Linked DNA regions of Homo sapiens: regions 1 and 2 are each linked to region 3. Evidence: promoter capture Hi-C in 16 types of primary human blood cells and fetal thymus (Javierre and others, 2016). All regions are on one chromosome and are shown on one strand. Each heading gives the region's core, a stretch centred on a gene start or on the middle of the fragment in contact. The rest is flanking DNA. Distances are from core to core; before and after follow the strand shown. Region 1 holds the start of PRMT1 (protein arginine methyltransferase 1). Region 2 holds the start of RCN3 (reticulocalbin 3). Region 3 overlaps LOC107985340 (a long non-coding RNA gene).

Region 1 (2,700 bases), core at 6-2,505, 430 kb before region 3:
CCAAGCTAGCGGGGATGCCTATAAGAAGAAAGGTGCTGAGGGGGTTTCCCACTCGGGCCTATTTCTCAATACCACTGAAAACTACCGCCAGACAACCCCAGCCCCAGAGGGCTTGAAACGCAAGACTGAAACCTCCCCCACATGGCTGCACGAGAACCAAACCTCACTCGAAACCATTTCAGGCACCCACTCTCAGGACCCCAGGGCTCAGGACCCTGCACAGGGCTTCAGGAAGAAGGAGGTCATCTCGCACCCTCACAAAGACCCGGGGGAGATAAACGGCTCCAGTAGGGTAAAGCTCTCAGCCTACATATTTCCCACAACTCCTTCCCAGCGGACATACCCTCCTCCCTCCGCCCGCCAGGAAGAAATCCGAGGGGAGGTGGGCTTCAGGACACGCCCCATGAAAAAGATGTCCCTCCCACACACCCAGAAATGGCCACAAGGGGGTGCACGGCGCCTATTAATGGGAAAATCTCTATCTAGATGCCCCACCACCACCCAGAGGGAGGTCACAGGGGCATGCCCCATCCCCCAACTCCTAAAGCCCTGGGCGAGGGGGAGAATTCTGGGAGGGGAAACGGGGTCGGCGGGGGACCCCATTCTTGGTTTTCCTCCAGTCCCTAACCCAGAACGCACAAAACCGGGTCCGATATCCCAACAGATGCCCCCGGAGCTCGGAAGGAGGTTGGTAAAGGGCTGAGAAGCACTGCTCCTCCCAAGAGACTCCCCACATCGTGGAGGGCCCCAGGTCGATCACACCCCACGGCGTGTGCCCAGGTCCCCGGGGAGGAGGGCTGGGGGCGTCAGGAGGGTCGGACCCCCTCCCCGCCCCCCTGGGCGCCCCTCCCCGGCCGGGGGCGGGGCCTTTGTCCCGCACGTGGAGCCCGCCGGGCCACTGGACTCGGCACACCCCCTCCCCACCCACCGCGCAGCGGCCACGTGGGGGCCTGGCCGGAAGCGCCCCCAGCCCTCCTCCACGTGGGAGGGGGGATAAGACCCTCCGCTAGGCCGGATGCCGAAGGCCCTTGGAAGCTAGGGAGCCGTCACCTCAAACGATATCCCCGGATGTGGAACGTGCGGCGCCCCCGTGTGCGGCGGGGGACCTCCAACCCCATATCGCCAACTTAGAGCCCTTTCCCCACCACAGAGGCGTGAAACACCGACCCAAAGCCGCCTCCCGCCCACGGCGGCGCTCCAAGCGCTCACCTCCATGATGCAGTTCGCGGCCTCGGCTGCCGCCATCTTCACCCGCACCTACTCCTCCTCCGGCCGCCAAGACCCCCCCTTTCTCCTCACTCCCCCGGGACCGCCTTATACCAGAGGGTCCACGGCCCGCCTACCGCGACCCCGCTGGAAGATTTCATTGGCAATGGAGGCGGCCCGTCTGAGAATACCGTCTAGTAATTGGCTAGAGAATACGTCCATCATAGGTCAGGGGTTTGCCAACTCTGGCGTCCAGAATCCCGCCCCCTCAAGTCGACCCGGGATGGGGAAAACTGCCCGTCTATTGCAAGAAGCGCGACTGGTGATTGGGCAAAATCCACCAGGAATGCCCTCCCCTTTACACCCAGCACCGCCTCAAAGCTTCCCGGGGAGCCCCGCGCTAAAGGGGCGTCTTGAAACACCTGTCCATCACCAAAACGACCCGCCTCCTAATCGCTGCCATTGGTTTATCCGGAAGCGACGTCACGCAGCCTTTGGCCCACCCTCGCCAAGCGGCCGGCCTCAAGGAGAACACGGCAATTGGCCCACGGGTAGGGAAGAAGGCGGGGCTTCAGGCACCAACGATTGGCTCAAAGGAATTATCACTCCTCGTCCACTCGGTGGATCCTCCCAACCCGGGGGGAGTCTGGAGGAAAAAGGGAGCTTGTGCTCATTACCTGGGGGAAAAACGGAATCGGTGAGAGGCCCAGAGAGAGGAAGGGCATAGCTGGGGTCCCGAAGCAAGTGAGGAATAGGAGTCCGTCGTCAACACATTAAATCCCTAGCCCTTGACATAATCATTCCAAGTTTTTTAAAACCATCAACCCCTCTCAAGCCACTTGGTTTTTGCCAAGTCCCTCCCCCTGCCAGGAACGCCCACCTCTCTTTGTCTGGTCAGCTTCTAAACGTGAATCAGAGCACAGCTTAGGCACCACTTCCTCCGGGAAGCTTTCCTTGATTTGCAGAAAAAGTTCCTAGTTGAATGAAGCTGAATGCAAAGGGCCGAATGCGTGGGTCCTGCCCCTCCTCTCCCCGATCCCTCTACTTCCCTCTGCTCACACTTCTCTCCAATCCCGGAATGAGCTCGCTCTTTGGTTTCTGGGCCTCCGCGCAGGCTATACTCTCTGGCGTGCCGCTGGCAAACGCCTGAGACTTAAAATTTACAATAGGGTTCGGGCGCGATGGCTCACGGGTGTAATTCCAGCACTTTAGGAGGCGGAGGCAGGCGGATCACTTGACATCAGGAGTTCGAGACCAGTCTGGGCAACATGGTGAAACCCCCATTTCTATTAAAAATACAAAAATTACGCCAGGCGGCCGGGCGCGGTGGCTCACGCCTGTAATCCCAGCATTTTGGGAGACCGAGGCGGGCGGATCACAAGGTCAGGAGGTCGAGACCATCCTGGCTAACATGGTGAAACCCCCGTCTCTACTAAAAATACAAAAAATTAGCCGGGCGTGGAGGCTTAGGCAGGAGGATGGCGTGAACCCGGG
Region 2 (2,861 bases), core at 267-2,766, 280 kb before region 3:
TTTGCAGGCTCAATCAGTGTCAGGAGGATGCACAGAAGAAGGCGGCTGCTCCCATCGCGCCCCCCTGCGCTCAGGCCTGGACGGAGAGGGTGGACAGGGCTCCATTCCACCCAGCTCACCCTGAAACTCAGGGCTCTGCCACTCTCCTGCACTGGCCGGGCTCCTTAAAGGCCAAACCTCATTTTCCACACCAGTCCCTGCCATTTACAGAGCAGGAAACTGAGGCTTGGGGAGGGGAGATGTCTGGGACAAAAGAATAAGGAGCGCTTAGGGGGCAGAATCTAACCCAGATTTTGCTGCCCTCAAAGGTCCTCTTTTTTATTGTTGTTGTTGTTTTTTAGACGGAGTCTCACTTTGTCGCCCTGACTGGAGGGCAGTGGTGCAATTTTGGCTCACTGCAACCTCCACCTCCCAGGTTCAAGCGATTCTCCTGCCTCAGCCTCCCGAGTAGCTGGGATTACAGGTGCCCACCACCACGCCTGCCTAATTTTGTATTTTTAGTAGAGACGGGATTTCACCATGTTGGCCAGGCTGTTCTCGAACTCCTGACCTCAAGTGATCGGCCTGCCTTGGCCTCCCAAAGTGCTGGGATTACAGGCATGAGCCACCACGCCCGGTCTCAAAGGTCCTCTTTAGGCCTCAATTTTAACTTAATTTCTTTTTCCCAAGGATAGAAGGTAGAATTTCATTTCTCACAAAGAAATGAAGTTCAGTCCACGCCATTTCTCTGACCCCTGTCGATACCCCCGCGTCTCTCTCCTAAGCCCCACCTCTGGACACGCCCCAACCGAATGTCTCTCTTACCCCAGACGGGCCTGGCTTTCCTCTGGGGTGAGTTGGTCGAATTCCTTGGCCACTTCCCGTCCCAGGAAAGCCTCATGGTCGTACTGGAAGTTCCCGTGGGCGTCATCATGGGGAGCGTCGCTCAGGGGGGCCGCCTGGTGCACCCTCCCCTGGCCATGAGGGCCTGCGTCTGGGGATGGCTTCCCCTGGGCCCCGTGCCTCAGTAGCAACAGAAGCAGCAGAACTGATGGTCGCCACATCATCGGTCCCTGGGGAGTGGCAAAGGCCAGGGGTCAGGGGTCACAGGGATGGGGACAGACACGGGATAGGAGAATGGCGGGGTGGAGGGGTTACCTAGGACAGGACAGGGAGTTGGAAGTTGGCTGCAAGCTTTCGGGCTCAAAAAGGGCGGGCGATGGGGGAAAAGAGGGCGGGATGCTTAGAGGTAAAGCCACCTATGGGGAGGACCGAATCTTCTGACGGAGTCTCAGGGGGGTCCCAGACCTGCCAGGGGGAATTACAGAGACAGACGTGGCGCACATCCCACGCAAGGTGCAGGGCATAGTTGTGGCCAGCGAGAGGTCAGGCAGGCTCCCCGTCATTGCTCCCAGTCCGGACCCTGGTCCTCGACCCGAGCCGCCCTCCCTGGACAGAGGCCCCCCACCCACTCCCTTTACCCTGTTATCCAGCTTCGCTCCGCTCTCCACGCTCCGCTCTGCGTTCCCGCAAATGTGCCCAATTCGGCCGCTCTCCAGTCAGGCCCCGCCTCTGGCAGCGCAGAGCCCCGCCCCCCGCCCAATGAGCTCGCACGAGCGTCTCACGGGGCGGGGCCAATGAGTGCACGGGGTGCCGCGGGCACTCCTCGCCACGTCCACAAAGGAAACCGCGGCCTGCCCGGGGAAGAAGGGTGGGCGACACCGCAGTGACGCGGCCGGGGAGAACTACAACTCCTGGCAGTCGTCGCGGCACTCTGCCGTCCACCTCCAGCTGTTCTAGTCACAACGCCTCACGGGAAATGTATTTTTCCCTTTCCCTTTGTCAGGATGGTTTAAGAAAGAGGTGTACGTTCCAACACTTCTATACCAAACAAAACAAAACAAAACAAAAATAAACAAAAAGAACGAAAGAAAAGAAAAAAGGCCGGGCGCGGTGGCTCACGCCTGTAATCCCAGAACTTTGGGAGGCCGAGGCGGGCGGATCGCCTGAGGTCGGGAGTTCGAGACCAGCCTGATCAACACGGAGAAACCCCATCTCTACTAAACATACAAAATTAGCCGGGTGTGGTGGCGCATGTCTTTAATCCCAGCTACTTTGGGAGGCTGAGGCAGGAGAATTGCTTGAACCTGGGAGGCGGAGGTTGTGGTGAGCCGAGATCGCACCATTGCATTCCAGCCTGGGCAACAAGAGCGAAACTCCGTCTCAAAAAAAAAAAGAAAGAAAAGAAAAGAAAAGAAAAGGGAGAGCAGAATCAAGGGGCCGGAGGAAATATCCCATTTCCTCCAAGAGTGAACACTGCTCCTCGCTCCTCTTCGGCTCCAAGGATTCAGGTGGTCAGACAGTAGCCAAGAATTCCTCAAAATGCCTGGCATGGCAGTCATCCAGTAAATATTTGTAAAAGTTATGAATTAAAAATACATGACCTCAGGTTGAGCACAGTAGCTCAATGCCTGTAATCCCAGAACTTTGGGAAGCTGAGGCAGGTGGATCACCTGAGGTCAGGAGTTCCAGACCAGCCTGACCAACATGGTGAAACCCCGTCTCTACTAAATACAAAAAATTAGCCGGGTGTGGTGGTGCATGCCTGTAATCCCAGCTACTTGGGAGGCAGGAGAATTGCTTGAACCTGGGAGGCGGAGGTTGCAGTGAGCTGAGATCACGCAATTGTACTCCAGTCTGAGCAACAAGAGCAAAACTCTGTCTTAAAAAAAAAAAAAAAAAGTGACCTTAGGCCGGGCGCGGTGGCTCACACTTGTAATCCCACCCCTTTGGGAGGCAGAGGCGGGTGGATCATGAGGTCAGGAGATCGAGACCATCCTGGCTAACATGGTGAAACCCCGTCTGTACTAAAAATACAAAAA
Region 3 (2,700 bases), core at 38-2,537:
ACTTTGGGAGGTGGGTGGATCACTTCAGGTCAGGAGTTTGAGACCAGCCTGGCTAACATGATGAAACCCCATCTCTACTAAAAATATAAAAATTAGCCGGGCGTGGTGGCAGGCGCCTATAATCCCAGCTACTCGGGAGGCTGAGGCAGGAGAATAGCTTGAACCCAGGAGGCGGAGGTTGCAGTGAGCTAAGATCACGCCCTCCAGCCTGGGCGACAGAACGAGAGACTGTCTCAAAGTATATTAGCAAATTTAATCCACAAACAAAGTGGATACAGTATAAGCAAGTGGTTTTATCCCAGAAATTAATGTAACTTATTACATTAATAGATTAAAGGGAAGAACCATTTGACAAAATTCAACACCTATTATTGGAGGAAAAAAAACCTGCAACAAACTAGAAATACAACAGAACTTCCTCCATGTGCTGGGCAGAGATTCTCTACCTGAACATGATGGGGATTTTGCCCAGAAAATTCTTTGCTGGGGTGGGGAGAGGCTGTGCTGTGCATCCTAGAATGCTTGGCAGTGTTCCTAGCCTTCACCCTCAAGATGCCAGCATCAACGCTCCCCACTCAGCTGTTTGTGACAATGAAAAATGTCACATGACAGGCCAAGTGCAGTGGCTCACGCCTGTAATACCAGCACTTTGGGAGGCCGAGGTGGGCGGATCATGAGGTCAGGAGATCGAGACCATCCTGGCTAACATGGTGAAACCCTGTCTCTACTAAAAATACAAAAAATTAGCCAGGCGTGGTGGCGGGCGCCTGTAGTCCCAGCTACTCAGGAGGCTGAGGCAGGAGAATGGCGTGAACCCGGGAGGCGGAGTTTGCAGTGAGCCGAGATCACGCCACTGCACTCCAGCCTGAGTGATAGAGCGAGACTCAGTCTCAAAAAAAAAAAAAAAAAAAAAAAAAAAAAAGTCATATGACATTACCAAATGTCCCTGGAAGAGGTGGGAAATCACCCTCGGTTGAGAATCATTCATTGTGTTAAGGATATTAACAACAATGACAAAAGCTACAGCTAACATCATACTAAATGATGAAATACTGAATACTTTCCCCAATACTGAAAACAGGGAAGGGAAATCCCTTTACACCACTTCTGTTCAACACTATAGTGAAGTTCCTAGCCAGTGAAAGAAGGCAAGAAAAAGATATAAAAAGCATAGAAACTGGCTAGGAAGAAGTAAAACTGTCTTTATTCACAGATGTCATAAGCATGTAATTAGGAAATCCTAGGGAATCTACAAAAATAAAAAGCTACTAGAATAAGTGCACTTAGGAAAGTCACAAAAATAAAAGCCAATATACAAAAATAATCACATTTCTGCATACTAGCAACAAACCATAGTTAAGTGAAATTTTAAAAACAAAACCATTTACAATAGCCTCAAAAATCAAATGCTAAGACTATATTTAACAAAAGATATTCAAAAATCTCTATACTGAAAACTACAAGGTATTTTTGAGAGAAAAACCTAAATAAATGGAAATATTTGTTTATGAATTCAAAGAATTGGTGTAGGCCGGGCGTGGTGGCTCACGCCTGTAATCCCAGCACTTCGGGAGGCCGAGGTGGGTGGATTACTTGAGCTCAGCAGTTTGAGACCAGCCTGGCCAACATGGTGAAACCCTGTCTCTACTAAAAATACAAAAAAATTAGCTGGGCATGGTGGTACACACCTGTAATCCCAGCTACTCAGGAGGCTGAGGTAGGAGAATCGCTTGAGCCTGCGAGGCAGAGGCTGCAGTGAGCCGAGATCGCACCACTGCACTCCTGCATGGGTAACAGAGTAAGACTCTGTCTCAAAAAACAAGATATCAGTTCTCCCCAAATTGATCTACAGATTCAACACAATGGCAATTCAGATCTCAGCCAGGTTTGTTGAGGAATTGACAAGCTGATTCTAAAATGTACATGAAAATGCAAAGGACCGGCCGGGTGTAGTGGCTTATGCCGGTCATCCCAGCACTTTGGGAGGCCAAGGCAGGAGGATCACCTGAGGTCAGGAGTTTGAGACCAGCCTGGCCAACATGAGGAAACCCCATCTCTACTAAAAAATAATTAGCCAGGCGTGGTATCGGGTGCCTGTAATTTCACTTAGGAGGCTGAGGCAGGAGAATTGCTTGAACTCAGTAGGCAGGGAGGTTGCAATGACCTGAGATCACACCACTGCACTCCAGCCTGGGCAATGGAGCAAGACTCCATCTCAAAAAAAAAAAAAAAAAAAAAATGCAAAAGACCTAAAGTAGTCCAAACAATCTTGAGAAAGAACACGTTGGAGACTCATACTATCGAATTTCAAGATTTACTATAAAGCTACAGTAGTCAGGGCAGTGTTATATTAGCCTAAAGATAAACCAAAAGATCAATAGAACAGAACAGAAATCCACCTATACACATATGACCAATTGATGTTCAGTAAAGATATCACAGCAATTCAATGGGTAAGGGAAAGTCTTTTTAACAAACAGGGCTAGAACTACTGTATAGCCATATAGAAAAATATAAACATATTCCTGCCACATACCATACCCCCACCCCAAATTAACAGGAACCAAAGACCTAAATTCAAAAGCCAAAACTAGAAACTTCCGGAAGAAAACATAGAATATCTTTATGACCTCGGGCTTAGCAAAGATGTTCTATATTAAATGTAACAGGCCAGACACAAATGTCTATGTATTGTGTGAA

The links. Contacts are between HindIII fragments. The CHiCAGO score rates a contact against its expected background, and 5 or more counts as called.
Region 1: the fragment with the promoter of PRMT1 here is called in contact with a fragment that was not itself captured in region 3 in 1 of 17 cell types (total CD4 T cells); the score reaches 5.1 in total CD4 T cells.
Region 2: a contact is called between the fragment with the promoter of RCN3 here and a fragment that was not itself captured in region 3, in 1 of 17 cell types (naive B cells). The highest score is 6.2, in naive B cells.

Annotation. Positions count from the first base shown.
Region 1 is chr19:49,675,826-49,678,525 of GRCh38, reverse strand. PRMT1 (protein arginine methyltransferase 1) reads right to left here and starts at 1,255. Exons shown (of 11, transcript NM_001536.6): 1 at 1,210-1,255. The coding sequence starts at 1,245. RefSeq lists a silencer at 761-1,040 and enhancers at 885-1,616, 1,621-1,770. The HindIII fragment of the contact is 22,690 bases long and covers 1-1,589 here.
Region 2 is chr19:49,526,658-49,529,518 of GRCh38, reverse strand. It overlaps RCN3 (reticulocalbin 3), which reads right to left and starts at 1,516. Exons shown (of 7, transcript NM_020650.3): 1 at 1,461-1,516; 2 at 805-1,052. The coding sequence starts at 1,046. RefSeq lists a silencer at 1,439-1,558 and an enhancer at 1,022-1,600. The HindIII fragment of the contact is 8,718 bases long and covers 1,176-2,861 here.
Region 3 is chr19:49,246,251-49,248,950 of GRCh38, reverse strand. All of the region lies in intron 2 of LOC107985340 (a long non-coding RNA gene), which reads right to left. Among named protein-coding and RNA genes, the nearest start is that of MIR4324, 61 kb to the left of the region's middle. The HindIII fragment of the contact is 8,311 bases long and covers 1-2,700 here.